Regions from separate parts of the Homo sapiens genome. Here region 2 is linked to region 1. Evidence: promoter capture Hi-C in 16 types of primary human blood cells and fetal thymus (Javierre and others, 2016). All regions are on one chromosome and are shown on one strand. The core of a region is centred on a gene start or on the middle of the fragment in contact, and the rest is flanking DNA. Distances in the headings are between cores, read along the strand shown.

Evidence for each region. The method cuts DNA at HindIII sites, captures the fragments that hold promoters and counts their contacts. A CHiCAGO score of 5 or more calls a contact.
Region 2: the fragment with the promoter of NOTCH1 here is called in contact with the fragment with the promoter of RABL6 in region 1 in 1 of 17 cell types (fetal thymus); the score reaches 5.2 in fetal thymus.

Annotation. Positions count from the first base shown.
Region 1 is chr9:136,806,698-136,809,825 of GRCh38, forward strand. It overlaps RABL6 (RAB, member RAS oncogene family like 6), which reads left to right and starts at 1,251. Exons shown (of 15, transcript NM_024718.5): 1 at 1,251-1,629. The coding sequence starts at 1,500. It overlaps CCDC183 (coiled-coil domain containing 183), which reads left to right. Exons shown (of 14, transcript NM_001039374.5): 12 at 60-170; 13 at 273-369; 14 at 875-1,044. The coding sequence ends at 993. CCDC183-AS1 (CCDC183 antisense RNA 1) reads right to left here and starts at 2,151. Exons shown (of 5, transcript NR_024580.1): 1 at 2,030-2,151; 2 at 132-505. It also overlaps the pseudogene LOC100422233. RefSeq lists enhancers at 195-790, 791-1,387 and silencers at 663-892, 1,093-1,262, 1,313-1,372, 1,393-1,522, 1,533-2,062. The HindIII fragment of the contact is 3,360 bases long and covers 1-2,369 here.
Region 2 is chr9:136,544,443-136,547,752 of GRCh38, forward strand. NOTCH1 (notch receptor 1) reads right to left here and starts at 1,606. Exons shown (of 34, transcript NM_017617.5): 1 at 1,284-1,606. The coding sequence starts at 1,344. MIR4674 (microRNA 4674) reads right to left here and starts at 1,817; the gene lies at 1,731-1,817. RefSeq lists enhancers at 441-490, 2,463-3,310 and silencers at 721-770, 991-1,250, 1,271-1,830, 2,171-2,270. The HindIII fragment of the contact is 3,030 bases long and covers 636-3,310 here.

The sequences.
Region 1 (3,128 bases), core at 1-2,500:
ACACACCAGGTCCCTGGGCAGGGCCAGAGGGGAGATGAGACCCTCCTCCCGGCCTACAGAGAGAAGTGGTGCTCTCCAACACCCTCGATTTGAACAGCAAGCTGGCGTACTGCGAGGGGAAGCTCACGTACCTGGCTGACAGAGTGCAGATGGTGTCCAGGACCGAGGAGGTAGCCCCGGGCTGGGAGGAACCTGCACAGCCCACGTCCCCTCAAAGCTGACAGGCTCCCGTTCAGAGTGTCTGCACGGCTGAAGGGGGCTTTGCCCTGCAGGGCGACACAAAGGTGAGGGACACCCTGGAGTCCTCGACTCTGATGGAGAAGTACAACACCAGGATCAGCTTTGAGAACCGGGAGGAGGATATGATCGGTACAGGCCCCGGAACTGGGGCCCGGGCTGCAGGCGGGTGGCTGGAACACAGGTCGGGGTGGCGCCGGCTCCCATCCCACCGGGACATCCTGGAGGGACAGCGGGGCTACAGGGTGCATCAGTTGTACCTGCAGGACTTTAATTGATGGAGGTGACTTAGTGATGCCATGGGGAGGCTAAAGCCACTGAAATACCTTGTTAATTTCTCCGAAAGGAGGAGGCATGCCATGCCAGACGGGCCCGGAGGAGAGGCACCAGGGCTGGAGCAGGGAGGAGCGCGGTGAAGGCCTGGGCCGGAGCTTCCACTGGGGGTTCTGCGGGAAAGGCTAGGCAGGGCAGCGTGAGCCGCTGCGAATGGGCTGGGCTGAGTCCTCCCGGCACGCTGGGGCTGTCCCTGGGGCAAGGCACCTGGCCCGGGTCGGTGGAGGGCGGGGGCGAGAGGCGGGTCGGGCGGCTGCGCCTAGCTGGGCTAGCCCCGTGTGCGAGCCGCCGCCTCCGCCCGCAGACACCTTCCAGTTCCCCGACATGGACCACAGCTACGTCCCTTCGCGCGCCGAGATCAAGAGGCAGGCGCAGCGGCTAATCGAGGGGAAGCTCAAGGCGGCCAAGAAAAAGAAGAAGTAGCCCCGCCGCCCCGCTCCCTGCTTTGCTACACAAATAAACATTTTTCCAGGACTGCTGCGGACGCTGGGGCGACCGGGGTCTCGGAGAGGAGCACGGGACACGCAGGATCGGGGGAGGTTCTGCGTAAGGAGGCAGCCCGGGCCCGGAACTGCGCGCCAGAACCGCGTGCGCATGCGCCGACCGCGCGCGCCGCGCCCCCGCGGCCCTCGCGGCGCCCCGTAGCCGCGCACCCCTCCCGTCCCGCCGAGCCGGCGCCAAGATGGCGGCGCTGACTCCTGGAGAGCGGTCGCGCCGGAGGCCGCGGGGGCCGGAGCGGAGCAGCCGCGGCTGAGGTTCCCGAGTCGCCGCTCGGGGCTGCGCTCCGCCGCCGGGACCCCGGCCTCTGGCCGCGCCGGCTCCGGCCTCCGGGGGGGCCGGGGCCGCCGGGACATGGTGCCAGTCGCACCCCTTCCCCGCCGCCGCTGAGCTCGCCGGCCGCGCCCGGGCTGGGACGTCCGAGCGGGAAGATGTTTTCCGCCCTGAAGAAGCTGGTGGGGTCGGACCAGGCCCCGGGCCGGGACAAGAACATCCCCGCCGGGCTGCAGTCCATGAACCAGGCGTTGCAGAGGCGCTTCGCCAAGGGGGTGCAGTACAACAGTGAGTGCGGCGGGCCGGGGGGGCGCGGGAGCGCCGCGCGGGTCTCCGAACCCAGGCCCCGGGCGCCGCGCGGTGGTGGGTGTCGGTCTCACCTGCTTGCCGGTTGTGGGGTGCGCTGGGCCCGCCGGGCGCTCCGGGAGCGGGGGCGCGGGCCAGGGGACGCGAGGAGAGGCCAGGCCAGGGCCGGGTCCTCGCGGCCCCCGAGCCGCGGGTCGTTTCCCAGCCGCACTCGCCTGCCGCGTGTCGCTCCCGCCGCGCTGTGCAGTGGAGCGGGTCGGCGGCGGCGGGGTTGGCCCGGCTGCCCGGCCCGGGGGTGATTACATAATGCCAAGCAGGGCCCGCCGGCCCGGGGCGCCGCGCCCCCGACGCTCCACGGTGCCCAGCCCCGGGCACCACTCACCTGCAGGAGGTGCGGGGAACCCAGCCGGCCTTGGCGCTTTCAGCGGGATTTTTCTTTGTTGACTTCCTACTGAGTTTGAAGACAGAATATTAGCTACGCCACACATTCTCGCCTTTTTTTTTAAAAGAAGCGTTTGTAAGAGACGTATCTAGAAAAGCTCCAGAAGGCACGGGCTGACTTGCGACTGTAGGAGACATCCCATTTCTCGTAGGAAGGAGGAGTCATTTACGGACTCCTGAGTGCCTGGGACGCTCCATTCCTTTGTTATAAATTGTGTAAATTGTCCTCGACCTCTTATGAGTTTTTCCATCTTGCGGGCTCTTTCCCAGTAGTTTTTGAAAGCTTTTATGTGGTTCCCTGTTTTGACATTGCTTCCCTCTTAGCCATTTCCGTATGTTTCTATGAGGTTTTAGGACGCTACGCCTATCCAGTTTTTTGGTCACTTTAAGGGGAGCCTTAGAGCCTCCGTGATATTTCCATGGTAATGTAGAATTTTAAGAACTAATGATCAGAAAGACTCTTGTGCAGGTTTAAAAGCAAGTTCATGAATTCGCGTGCCGTGTGCACGGAGAGAGGCCGTAGTTCCTGGGGCTGGAGCTAGTCCAGGAGGACAGTGAAGATGTCGCCTTCCTTAGTCCCCCGGCCTGTGAGCAAGAGGAAGCTGCAGACCACTCGGGCCACCCTCACCCAGACACCTTTAGCAGTAAGCAAGATAAAACAACTTCTTAAAGATAAGTCTGAGCATCTAGGTATGAAAGTTGGTGTCCGGGCCGGGCACGGTGGCTCATGCCTGTAATCCCAGCACTTTGGGAGGCCAAGGCGGGCAGATCACGAGGTCAGGAATTCGAGACCAGCCTGGCCAACATAGTGAAACACCGTCTCTACTAAAAATACGAAAAAAAAATTTAAAAGAAAGTTGATGTCCGAACCAAGGGCCGTATTGGCTTTTCTTATACTCTAGAACATACGACGACAAAGAAGATTTTGATGAAGTTCAAATTAGAGTCAGCGTGCTCATCAGAAAGAAAGCGCAGCCAACACGTTTAGGAACAGAAACGGATTATGTTGAAGACAAACAATCCATTGCGTTTGTGTTCAG
Region 2 (3,310 bases), core at 356-2,855, 260 kb before region 1:
AAAGCGTTGCCCCCCACCCTGGAGGCTCACTGAGGAGTCTGGCAGGGCAGGGCCCCCCATCCAGCCGCCGAGATTGCCTCTGTTCAAACCCGTTCTGCAAGGGGGCAGAGCTGGACGGGGGGAGGGGGGGTGGCCACACTCAGCTCCCGCCCGTGGGAAAATGCGACAGCTGCTCGCCCGCTACCCCGCCCGCCAACAAAGCGCCGGCCTCCGCCTCAGAATCAGAGCGGCCCATTGTGGAGTCGGGGCCGCCTCCAGGGGCACCGGGACAGCACCCTGGGGACGCGGCCCCGCCTCCGCCGACACCCAATACCTGCCTCCGCGGGCGCGCATCTCCAGGGCAGCCCCCATACACCCACAGGAGGGGGATGAAGGTCCCCCATTCGGAAGGAATTCGACCCCATCTCGAGAAGGGATCAATTACTCAAGCCCCTCCCTCCCCATCTTACCGGGGCTGAGAAACGGGGGAGGGGGGTGTGACACAGAGCCGCACTTTCTGGAAGAGGACAGATAATTCTCGCCTCCAACTCTCGGAGAAAGAGTGGATTAATCACTCGATTCCCCAGAGACCCCGCTCGCTGTGCGGCGGGGAGAAATGTAAGAGCCCCCCACCCGCGTCCCGCTCTCCGCCCCCAAGCTTTCCAAACTTCAACTCCGCAAAGCAAAAGGAAAGTTCAGTCCCCCCGGGCGCGGCGGCTTCTTACGCAACCCCTCCCCCAAACTGAGAGCCGGGCTGGGGGGCACCGGCGGGCGGGGCGACCGGGAGCCCGGGGACCCAGCCCGGCCGCGCGGGTCAGTGAAGGCGAACGCGGCGCCGCAGAGCCCACACTCCGCGCCCCAACATCCGCCCCGGCGTGGGCCAGAGGCGAAGAAGAAAGAAGATAAATGGCCCGGAGAAGCAACAGGAAACCAAAACCGACTCTATTCAAATCGAAAAATAGTAGGCAGCCCGCCCGCCCGGCCGACCGGCGGCAAGCCCCACGCGCGGCGGGTGAAGGGCGGGCCCGGAGTAGGGCCTCCGGGGCCCCAGCACCCCACACCGGCCTCCTAACTCGGCTCCAGGCACGGGCGGCGCGAGTCCGCCTCCACGGGGGGATCGAGGGGGAAGGTCGGTCCTCCCTGATCCCGGGACTCCAGAACCCCACGCCCCGGGCCGCCCGCTTTTCCCTCTCCATGCTGGCCTCCCCGCCGCCCGCTCCCAGCCGTGGGGCGCGCGCGCCGGGCGCCGCCAAAGTTTCCAAAGGGCGCGGAAAGTGGGGGCTCGCGGGTGGGTGGGCGCCTACCTCGTGCGGCGAGCGCGGGCAGCAGCGCCAGGCAGAGCAGGGGCGCCAGGAGCGGCGGCATGCCTCCCCACCGGCTGCCCTCTGCGCCCGGGCGGCGGCCTCCTGCGCTGGCCGGCGGGGCTGGGACGCACACGCGCGGCGTACGGTCCCGGGGCGGCGGCGGACGGTCCCGCCCTCTCTTCCCCGGCTGGCTGGCGGCGCTGTGCTCTCGCAGGCCCCCGGGCCCGGCTCCGCGCCCGGCTCGTTCCTTCGCTGCGCTCGCGCCCGCGCCCGCGCCCCGCGCCCCGCGCCCTTGCGCTCCCTCCCGCGGCCGAGGCACTAGTGAGGCTCAGAGTCGAGGTGCGCTCCGCCCCCGCCGGCCCCGCCCCGCCCGGCCCCACCCCCGCCGGTCCCCCCGCCCCCTCCGCGGCCACCTCCTCCCGCACGCCCCGTCCGCCTTTGCGCCTCCCCGAGCTGAGCCGCGCGTCCCGAGCCCAGCCTCTCCGGGGAGGAGGGACCCGGCGGCGCGGCGTGGGTCGGGAGCGGGCGCCTGGGACTACTTCTCGTTTGAAAGTTTTCAGAGGCCAAAAGTTTGAGCCGGGGCTGCGGAAGGATCCGGCTCTGGCGGTTGCCGCGCTCGGCGACAACTGGCGACTGAAATTTGCATGTGAATAAGCGGAGGAGCCCGGGGCGGAATGGGGAGGGCGAGGCCGCGGACAGCCGTGTGCACCGTGCGCTGGGCCGGGCGGGGAGCAGCTGAGGCCACGTTGGGGGACCCCGGGCCCGGGGCAGGGCTCTGGGAGAGTGGCCTAGCCGTGTGTGCGCCCCTAGCCCAGCGGCTTCACTCCCTCCCGAGGGCCCCGTGGCCGCGGCTTTAGGCGTCCAGAGGATCGATCGCCGCCAGACATCCCTGGCCGTGATTGCCCGAGCACTTGACCGCGAGGGATGGGGGCGCCGCGGCCTCTGGGCAGGGGACTCCGGGCGCCCCGAGGGAGCAGCCGGGACCAGTGCCTCGCGGACGGATTGTGCCCCGCTCCCCCAAGGGGGACCCGCGTCGACACGCTCCTCGGTCACCGTCCTCCTCCTGCCCGGGCGCCGCCTGCCTAAGGTGGCCCCAGAAAGCACAAACGGGTCGGGCGGATCTGCCGCTGGCGCCGGCGCAGCCCTTCCCACGTGCTCCTTCCGGCTGATTTATTTCTCCACCACGATGCCAGGCACGGGCACCCTGTGCCAAGCCTGGTTAAGCGCCAGGAGTCCAAAATGCCTGCCATAGTCCCTGCGCAAAGTTCACGGCCTCGTGCCAGGGACAGACAGCGCCCCCTCCCCACCCCAACACAGGGTGGTGAGTGCGATGGCAGAAGGCGCGTGTCCCGGCGCCCCTCCTGGAGTAGGAGGGCTAAGCCTGCCCTGCGGGGAGACCGAAAGGCTGGGAGGGACCTAGGACTGTGGGGGCCTGGGGGGAGGGCTGCAGAAACCCCAGAGCATGGTGGCAGAGGCAGGCACAGAAAGCAGGACAAATCTCACACCTGACCCCAGCAAGCCTTTCCTGGCACACCTCTTGCCAAATGCTGAGCACTCTGGAAACAGCCAGTGCAGGCGGCCTGTCCCGCCCCTGTAGCTGCTGCTGGGAGCCTCCCTCGCCTGCGTCCTCCCAGAATCTGGCCTCACTTCTGCAGGCCTGGGGTAACATCTTGGGGTCAGCGCCCCAGGAGAGGAGGCGCCTGGAGGCAGCAGAGATGTTTATGTAACAGCAGCCAGGCAGCCTGGAGGAGCAGATTTTCCATAGAAGGAAGCGCGGGGCTGTGCAGCTCCCAGGCTGAGGACTCTGCCCACCACGACGTCCTCTGCTCCTGGTGGGTGGGGGTGGGGTGGGGCATAGGGAGGCCCGAAGGCCTCAGGCCTGGTGCTGATCGGGTGCGGGTGCGACTGCCTGTGTGCCTCCATTGGCATCTCTGCCTGTGGGCCCCAGGCCAGAAGTAATGGCCCATGTAGCCCAGGCCCGGGGGCCAGTCCTCAGCATTTTGCGGAGGGGCGGCCTGGGAGGGGAG